Linked DNA regions of Homo sapiens: region 1 is linked to region 2. The links are contacts of gene promoters, found by promoter capture Hi-C in blood cells and fetal thymus (Javierre and others, 2016). All regions are on one chromosome and are shown on one strand. Each heading gives the region's core, a stretch centred on a gene start or on the middle of the fragment in contact. The rest is flanking DNA. Distances are from core to core; before and after follow the strand shown.

The links. Contacts are between HindIII fragments. The CHiCAGO score rates a contact against its expected background, and 5 or more counts as called.
Region 1: a contact is called between a fragment that was not itself captured here and the fragment with the promoter of ID3 in region 2, in 1 of 17 cell types (neutrophils). The highest score is 5.1, in neutrophils.

Annotation. Positions count from the first base shown.
Region 1 is chr1:24,391,717-24,396,339 of GRCh38, forward strand. The region is part of intron 2 of STPG1 (sperm tail PG-rich repeat containing 1); the gene reads right to left. Among named protein-coding and RNA genes, the nearest start is that of STPG1, 20 kb to the right of the region's middle. RefSeq lists an enhancer at 342-591. The HindIII fragment of the contact is 2,681 bases long and covers 1-2,591 here.
Region 2 is chr1:23,558,251-23,563,106 of GRCh38, forward strand. ID3 (inhibitor of DNA binding 3) reads right to left here and starts at 1,251. Exons shown (of 3, transcript NM_002167.5): 1 at 877-1,251; 2 at 685-769; 3 at 1-165. The coding sequence starts at 1,176. The coding sequence ends at 710. All of the region lies in intron 2 of LOC124903876 (a long non-coding RNA gene), which reads left to right. RefSeq lists an enhancer at 121-250 and silencers at 1,191-1,450, 1,318-1,564. The HindIII fragment of the contact is 2,494 bases long and covers 1-1,920 here.

The DNA of each region.
Region 1 (4,623 bases), core at 1-2,500, 830 kb after region 2:
AAAACAATGATTGACAAATGTGGAAAACACAAAGGTGTATATTAAAGTTTTATTTTAAATGGTAGAGAAGAGAAACTTGCCTTTTGACAGGAAACAGACACGAAACCGGATTAAAAAAAAAATTCCCCACTTTCTTTCCCTCTCGGCAATTTATCGGACTTCCCCCCTCCAGCTCTTAAATTAGTGAGATGTGGTCACATAAAGTACCTTAAACAGGCTGTCCCGGAGAAAAGGAAGGAGATGATAGTAAAGACATTCTTGCCAGGCAGGAAGGAGACAGCAAAACTATTCTGGGAGCAGCCTGGACGAGGCGCGGTCAGGACAGAGGAAGCGTCCTCACTGCTCCTTGGCCTAGATTCAGACACCAGCATTAGGCCGTTAAAATCCAAAGAGGTTAGGGAAATCCCAGCCTGGGGCTGGCTCTCACTTTTCAGGGCACTGTGCAAGACAGGTGTAAGTTTTCGTTTCTGTTTTGAGCAGACATGGGGTTAAAAAGCAGAAAGGGATCATCTATAGAAACTGAAGTTAAAAGTTCCTTTGTCTAGGCTGCGATGTATACATGCATGTCTGATGTATAAACTCCCCTCCTGCTGAGACTTCCACAACTGCTAGAACTTGGCAGCATCTGTCTGCATAGCAGGTTGATTATAGACTCTAACCTGTAAGTGTAATGGACTCTGACTCCAGTTTTTTGATGTTTGATGGCTGATAGCTCTTCAGCTTCACCACTCCCTCATTCCCTTCTGCCCTACCACTGGGCAAGCGGATGAGAAAGCCCAGAGCTCCCTCCTGTGGCACCAGCTGGAAGTTCAAACCACGCAGACCCCTGCCCTCAGTCCAGCCTCGCTTTCCAACCATAAGAAAACCCCCAAGCCAGGCTCCTTTCCCTGCTCTCTCAAGCCATTATTGGATCAGGTTAGGAAGGCTGTGCTGCTGTCCTCAGAAGGCCTCACTATGTGGGTGATAAGCCTTTTCCTACACTCTTCATGAGCGTGTGTGTGGCACCGTAAGTCTTGACATCCAAACCAAATTTTGGGTGGGGGGGTGCATCCTGACTCTGTAGGCTGTTCACAACAGTAAGCCAAATTATTTTAACATCAGAATCCTAACCTTCAGAGAGGAAATACGCGCAGAAATGGGGGAAAAAAAACAGTCAAGAGAAGGAAAGAAGAAAGTATGTGTTAGCCATGACAGAGGGTGGTTTGTATGGAAACTATCAGTAAGGCTCATTTCTTCATCTCTGAATTTTTTTAAAAAACAATACTCCTTTTCAGAGCAGGAAGCCTGAAGACAACAGGGACCCCTCAAGGGGTACAATCATGAACCAGCTTCACAGTTGAGGAAACTGAGGCTTAGAGGGATTAAGTTACTCATCCGAATCACCCAGCACTTAAGCGGAACAGGTAGGGTGTGAACATGATTTGCCTAATGAGTCCAGGCTCTTGAGCTCTGAGCTGTGCTTCCTCTTCCTGAGCTGGCCTCTAGTAAGTGCTCAATAAACACGATGGGGAGAGGGACACTGAAGCCTAATCTGCCTGGGTGGAGGATGAAGCAAGTAAAAGGAGCTGAATACGTGTTTAAGTAGAAAATATTTGGGGATACCAATATACAGTAAATGTATTCTTCTCCTCCCCTCCCCATTTAAGTAGATGAATGGCTATGTTTTTGGTTTGTTTGCTTTAAGAGAGCTATACAGCAAATCAAAAGGCAGAAGCAGCTGCAAGACTTCCTGGCTTTTGTTTCTAAAAGCCTAAGCCTATAGAACAGCTAAGAGAGTGTGCAGAGGAGGCAGTAAAAAGAGAGTTATTTAAAAAAGGTTAAAGGAAGGACATTCTCCTGGGGAAAGGAGAGGTTTCTGCCTGACTGGAAAGGAGATCCAAGGCTTCTGGCTATAACAGAAATGCATGTGTCAGAGCAGCCCTCTTGATGAAACAATTTAAAAAGTAGAATTTTTGAAAAACACTCTGGATGACTGAACTCCTATTTCTTACCAAAACAGGACTAGATTTGCCCTCCCAGCTGGAAAAAAAAAGTTAAAAATGGGCAAGATATATAAAGCAATCAAGATACTGGACATCAGGCAACAAAGGACAGGGATCCCTGAGAGAAGCAAAGTAAATGAGGTTGGCAATAAGATGGTCCCCAGCTTTCTGCCAGGAGAAAATCTCAAGACCACAGCACAGGAAGAAGGGATCCAGATGGAGCCCCGTGGTCTTCCTGAGTTGAGGAAATAGATCTGGGAGTCCAGAAAGACCAAGACAGCTAAGTTCACAGAGCAGAGTACCAGAGAAGAGAGAGCTACCCAGATGGAGAGCTATGGAGCTCTGCAACGGGGTCCCCTGAGTAAGTTCCTGGGTATTGACCAACACATGGCATGAGAAAACTACCCAGGGCTGGAGAAGGAACCGCCTGGCAGAATTCAAGTGAGCAATCCCTGAGGCTTCCACAGGGCCGGGAATAGCTCCTGTTTTCATGAGTCACAGCGGGAAAACCTCATAATTCATGGAACATAGAGTATGCAGGAGGGTTTCGCCTCAGAAATGGGGCAAAATTACCCCTAGACTAAATACTGCTCTGGTTCCAGCTAACAAAGCTTTAAAGCAGGACCTGAAAAGATCAAACTGTCTCCAAATAATTTAACTGCATCTCAGAACAAAGCACAAGAATATTTATGGGACTACAAAAATAGCACCTAAGAGGTAAAATTCAAAATACCTGGCATTGATAAAAAATTAATAGGAGGAAGAAGGAAAAATATACTTCAAAGTGGGGAGAAAATAAATGATCAAAACCAACTCAGAAATGATACAGATGATAGAATTAGTGGAGAAGAACATTATAACTGCTGCACTAACTGTATTTCATATGTTCAAGAAGCCAGAGAAAAGACTGAACATATTAAGTAGATATGGAAGATATAATGACAAGATCCAAATCGAACTACCAGATGTGAAAACTAAATGTCTGAGATTAAAAATACACTAGATGAGATGAATAGCAAATTAGACATTAGAGGAAAAAAAGATTAGTAAACTTGAAGACCTAGAAATAAAACTATACAAAATAAAACAGAAAAAGGACAAGAAAAAGGATTAGTGAGCTGTGTGGAAACTTTGAGGAGCCTAATATATATGTAATCAGGCTCTCAAAAAAAGAAATATGAGGAGAGAAGAAATAGAAAAAAATAGTTCAAGAAAAAATGGTTGAAATTTTTCCAAATTTGATTAAAAAAACTATTGACTCACAGATTCAAGAAAGTCACTTAACATCAAATACAAGAAACATGAAGAAAATGACACCGTAGGCCAACCATAATCAAATTGCTTAAAAAGTGATAAGAAGAAAATGTTAAAATTGGGCAGAGAAAAAAGACATGTCACATATGAAGAAACAAATACGAGAATGACAGCAGATTGATACTGAAAACAACACCTTTAAGGCAATAAAAGGAAAAAAAAAACCTGTCACCCTAGAATCCTGTACTCAGTAAAAATATCTTCAAAAGCAAAAGCAGAATAAAAACTTTTAAAACTATATAAATATTGAAAGAATCATCAGCAAATGGGAGCTACAAGAAATGTTAAGGGAAGCCCTTCAGGCCAAAGAAAATGATACCAGTAGGAAATCTGAATCACATAAAGGAATGAAGCTCTGGAAATAGTAAATATGTGGGTAAATAGAAAATATAAAATTATGAGTATAAATTGAACAATTTTTTTTTTTTTTTTTTTTTTTAGACGGAGTCTCGTTCTTGCGCCCAGGCTGGAGTGCAATGGCGCTATCTCGGCTCACTGCAAGCTCTGCCTCCCGGGTTCACGCCATTCTCCTGCCTCAGCCTCCCGAGTAGCTGGGACTACAGGCGCCCGCCACCGCGCCCGGCTAATTTTTTGTATTTTTAGTAGAGACGGGGTTTCACCGTGTTAGCCAGGATGGTCTCGATCTCCTGACCTCATGATCTGCCCGCCCCGGCTTCTCAAAGTGCTGGGATTACAGGCATGAGCCACCAAACCCAGCCTTGAATAATTTAAATATAACATTTTAAACATTTAAAAAGTAATGATTACTGGCCGGGTGTGGTAGCCTGTAATCCAGCACTTTGGGAGGCCTCCTCACCAAATTAGCCAGGCATGGTGGCAGGTGCCTGTAATCCCAGCTATTCAGGAGGCTGAATCAGGAGAATTGCTTGAACCCAGGAGGTGTAGGTTACAGTGAGCCAAGACTGCGCCACTGCACCCCAGCCTGAGCGACACAGCAAGGCTCCATCTCAAAAAAAAAAAAATTTATGTAAAGCAAAAATAACAACTGTTTTGTAGGGTTTATACCATATGTACAAGTAAAATGTTTAACAACAATAACATAAAGGCCAGGAAGGGAAAAATAAAAATATACTGTTTTAAGGTTCTTCTACTATATGTGAAGTGTTATAATATCACTTGATGGTAGACCATGATAAGTTAAAGATATATACTATAAACTCTAAAGTATGTAGGGATCAACGAACTTTTTCTAAGGGCCAGATAGTACATATCTGTCTATCTATCTATCCATCTATAGCTATCTATCTATCTATCTATCTATCTATCATCTATCTATCTTATTGATCTATATTTTGAGACAGGGTCT
Region 2 (4,856 bases), core at 1-2,500:
CCACAAGTTCACAGTCCTTCGCTCCTGAGCACCAGGTTTAGTCTCCAGGAAGGGATTTGGTGAAGTCAAGTGGGCAGGGCGAAGTTGGGGCCCATCCCTGCCGTCCGGCTTCCGGCAGGAGAGGTTCCCGGGGTCCCAGGCAGAACGGGCGCCAGCACCTGCGTTCTGGGCGGGGGAGGAAAGAAGACCAAGGAGCAGTCAGTTTCCGCCGAGCGTGCCGAGGCGGGGGCCGTCCGCAGACTGGCCGGCGCCAGGGAGGAAACTTGGTCTGTACCTCCAGCTGATAACTCCGCGCCCCACGCTGCCCCCACCCAGTTGGCGCCAAAGACCACAGGCGGAGCTTGCGCTACCCCTCCTACTTGGAATTGACACTAGCTGGGAGGGGGCTGCCGAAGACAGCTCCCTATACAACATGGAACAGAAAGACTTGTATTTAGTCGGACCCATGTCTACTTTGCCAGACCCTCGGCCACTGCGGGAGGGCAGGGCCCAGGCGCATTTAAGGCTTAAATGCACATCACATGGAAACTGACTCTGCCATTCATTTGATGCAACCATGGGCAAGTCACTTGTCCCTCTCTGGCCTCAGTTTCCCTAAACCGAGTGAGTGGCAATTTTTCAAAACGTCTGCCAACTCCAGGACTTGCCGTTTAAACCTCCCTCTCCAAGAGAGGAGATACTCACCTGGAGGTGTCAGGACACGGCCGAGTCAGTGGCAAAAGCTCCTTTTGTCGTTGGAGATGACAAGTTCCGGAGTGAGCTCGGCTGTCTGATTAGAGGAAAAGAGGGAAGAGTTACGCGAGGCAATCGGGAGCTCCGAGGGTCCCGCAGCATCCTTGCCTGGGTGTTCAGCCCTGTCCCGACTTCGAGGCTTACCTGGATGGGAAGGTGGGGGCCATCAGGGGGTCCAGGGGCTGGCTCGGCCAGGACTACCTGCAGGTCGAGAATGTAGTCGATGACGCGCTGTAGGATTTCCACCTGGCTAAGCTGAGTGCCTCTCGGGACTCCGGGTACCAGTTCCCGCAGGCGGGAGTAGCAGTGGTTCATGTCGTCCAGCAAGCTCAGCGGCTCCTCAGCTGCCGGGCCCTTCCCTCGGCCCCGGGCGATGGCCAGACTGCGTTCCGACAGGCAGCACACCGCCTCGTAGCAGCCGCGCACCGGGCTCAGCGCCTTCATGCTGGGGAGTGAGTCCAGAGGTGCCCCAAAGAGAAAGAAAACCAAAAGAAGTCCCGCTACAGTGACCTGCAACGCGCGCACGCTCGCCGCGGCGGTCACTTATAGAGCCTGCCTGGAAGGCACGCCTCTTTATTCAAAATGGCCCGCCTCGGCCCTGCCCCCGCCGGCCCTGGGCGTTCACAGCCCGCTTAAATTGCAAACAGGCTTCCTCCGGCTGGTCTGACGCCGAAGACCGCGGAGCCGCGGATTCAAAGAATGAGGAAGCGCTGATACCGGGGAGAGGCGGGCCTCTCCGCCAGCAAGGATTTAAAAATCACTCAAAACCATTAACTTCCAGAATTTGCTTTTTCCTGGCAGCACCCCAGATCTTTGAGCTTCCCTGCCCCCTGCCAGTCCGCCTTTAGCCCAACACTGGTTCGAGCCACAGCTCCTCCGAGGTCATAAATCCCTGAACAGCAAAGAAGCTCCCCCCACCCCCCGTTTTTTTTAAGCGAAAGATTTTTCAAGGGAAACTTGTAAGGAATTAGTGCCGCCTTGTTCCCCAATTTGCTGTTCGTCTGACCTCCAGACTCACTGGCGTCAGGAATTATCTTGTGACCAGAGGGAAAAAAAATTAATTGCGGTGAAGCTGAGGTTACAATGAAGAAAACAGATTTGCGCTAGGCGCTGAGATTGCAGAAGGAGGAGGGAAAGGGGGTTTGAGCAAAGAACACTATTTATTTGAGCAACAGGGGAAAAGAAGAAAGCTTGAGCCCATGCTTTTTGCATGGGGAAAAAAGGAGCCTGGACCCTCTGCCCCATAAACTCCATAACGAACTAAATATATGCACAGTTGTGCTTTGTGAGTTCAATTAGAATTTTGGACAAGGTTTTAAATATGGAGGCACAGATGGGACAATTTCTACATAAACCTTTTTAAGAGCCCCCCCCCACCCAATTGGGTCAGCAAATTTCTTAACTTCCCCTCTCTTCACTTTCCACACACCTCTGTGTAGAAAACAGTGGTAATTTCATTGCTCTATTGTCTGTCCCTTTCTGCTATGGAAGGGCAGGCCACCTGGACTTGATTATTCTTAGCCCTGCTGAAGTAGCTCCAGCTCCATCTGAAAGACCAGGAAAGGAACCAGAGGGCCGGCAAACTAAGTCCTGTATTGCAACAGGACACTGTGCTCAGTATTCTTTGATTCTTTGCTTGCCTTCTTGTCACCTCCCTAGACATTTGGGGACCTGCACTTCCAAGATGCTGCTTTCCATTTTGGAAATGACCAAGTGGGATTCCCCCAATAGTTGCTTTCCTAATGAATCATTGGTGAATATTTATGGAGTCCCTCCGCATAAAACAGTGGCTCCTGCTTTCAAGAATCTCACAATTTGGGGAGACAAGATTAACACAGGAAACAAGAGTTCGATAATGTGTGGCACTGATTAACAGGACAAGGGGGGCTCAGAGCCAAAGAGAGTCGCAAAACGGTTGAAAAGGACACTGACTGGGAATTGAGAGCCCTGGGTTCATCATGCTAGCCCTGACAATAATTTGTCATGTAATCTTGAACAAGCCCAGGTACTCTGGCTTTAATTGCCTTGTGAGTAAAATAGACGATGGTACTAAGTGATTATTTAAAATCCTTTCCAATTGTAGAAGTCCAAGGTTGTGTGAAATTTGGATATGTAGGTGAAAGATGCTGAGGGGCCCAAGGAAGGCATTTAAGACATGCCCAATGTCACACTACAAGTAATAGCAGAGCCAGTCTTGAAGCCTCGTTCTTTTCCATCAAACCACAGGGCTCTGTGGCCCAAGAAAGATTTCTTCCTGGAATGTTTTTTTCAAGGACAGGCTCTTCAGTAAGAAAAGAGGAAGAAAACCTGTGAGTGGGCAAGTCAGTCTTTACATGCTACAGCCGTCAAGTGCCAGCTATTTGGTCAGGAAAGGCAAAATAATGGCTGTAGGAACTCCTGAATAACCGAAGAGAAGATCCTTCTTTTCCTATCTTGCAGACTTCTGTGGCAAAACGGTCAAGTCCAGAGGGTTCTAGAAAAATCACGGGCCAGGCAGATTTCTGTGCAAATGCCCATTCTTCTTCTTCTTCTTCTTTTTTTGTTTAAACTAATTGTGTAGACTTTGGCTGAGTTATCCTGGGTGCTTCTATTTTCCCATCTATAAAATGGAACTAATTGGGTCTACTCATTCATTCATTCGATAATTATTGAATGCCTCTTCTCTGCAAAGCACTTGATGTGTTCACTCCATCTGATCTTAGTCTTCTTACTGCCTGGGGGACCCAGCATGGGCCAGTTGTGTGGAAGGTGCTCAGTCTACCCAGATTCTCCTCCCTTCTTTTCCTTCCTCTACTACTGCAGCTGATGCCTCAGGCTTGTATAGTGATTTAGGTTTGCAAAGCACCTTCGCATTTATTATTTCCCAGGATGCTTCCAGGCTGAAATGCCCATGGGCTGTGTGACATAAGGCAGAAGGATGCTGTGGAATTAGCAAGCAAAATTCTGTTCTGTGCATGCCAATAATTTGCAGTGTGCCCTTGGACGAATTTCCTCCCTTCCTGGGCTTCATTTTCTCTTTAAAAAAAAAAAAAAAAAAAAGATAGTGGGTAGGTTGGGAGGAAGCAAGTGCCCTTTAATGGTCCTCTCTAGCCTAAGATTCTAATTCTGAAAGAAGCAGGTTATGGTTAGGAACACTGAATAGTGTTTAAACCCAAGAGACTTCTTTTTCCCCACAGCAGACTGGACAGGCTAGCTCAGGCCTTCTGCAACTTGTTTAGCAGTGGTGGGGCCTCAGCCTCTTATTCCAAATGCCTCTGAACTTTCTGTTCCCAGTTCTGCTCCTTTTACCAGCTTTTTCCCCCCTCTTGCATTTTTTATTTTTATGAAAGGATGTCATTAAGGCTTTTGTCTGCGCTGTTTTTGTTTCAGAACTTTTCTCACAATCCTATTTTTTGTTGAGGAATCCGCTCCTTTGCCCAGCTGTGGGTCCCGGTCCCACAGCTGTGTTGATCTAAGACTCAGCCCCAGACAGCCTGGCGCCAGGGTGGGACGTCATGCGTTCACACAGGGATGCGTGTCCCAGGCAACCTTTCCTCGGGCAGTCACCGGCCGGCGACTGCCTCCCCCACCAATGAGCGCCGGACACCCGAGAAAGGGGCGGGGTCTGCATCGCCCCAACCGCGAGCGGCTTGTGAATTGCAGATGCTGAGAACTTGATAATGTTGCTTCAATTGGGGCCCTTTAAAGTCTTTTTTTTTCTTTCTCTTTTAGTTCTTTATTTTCTTTTGTCTATTCCCTTTCTTTCCACCTTCTTCCTTTATCTATATATGTGTATAATTTTTCTTCTTCTTTTTTCTAACTATCTCCTCCCAGTGTCAGGAATCATTTTGTAAGCATTTCCAGGAACTCAATCTTCCTCTGCCAAAATAAAAAAAAGAAAAAAAAATTCAATGTTGTGCTCTCTGATTTTTTTTTTTTTGAGAAGTTGGCAGAACTCTTTAAGTTATACTGTTTTGTTTTTTAAAAAATTTTAGAATTTTTTAATTTCGTGGTAGTGGGCTCTCTAAATTGTTGATTTCAAAGTCAAAGTAATGATGACAAGGATTGCAGATGCCTTTTTGTCTAAGCTGAGCCTCTATTTATTATCTATCTATCATCTTTTTCCCATTTATGTCCCAGACATG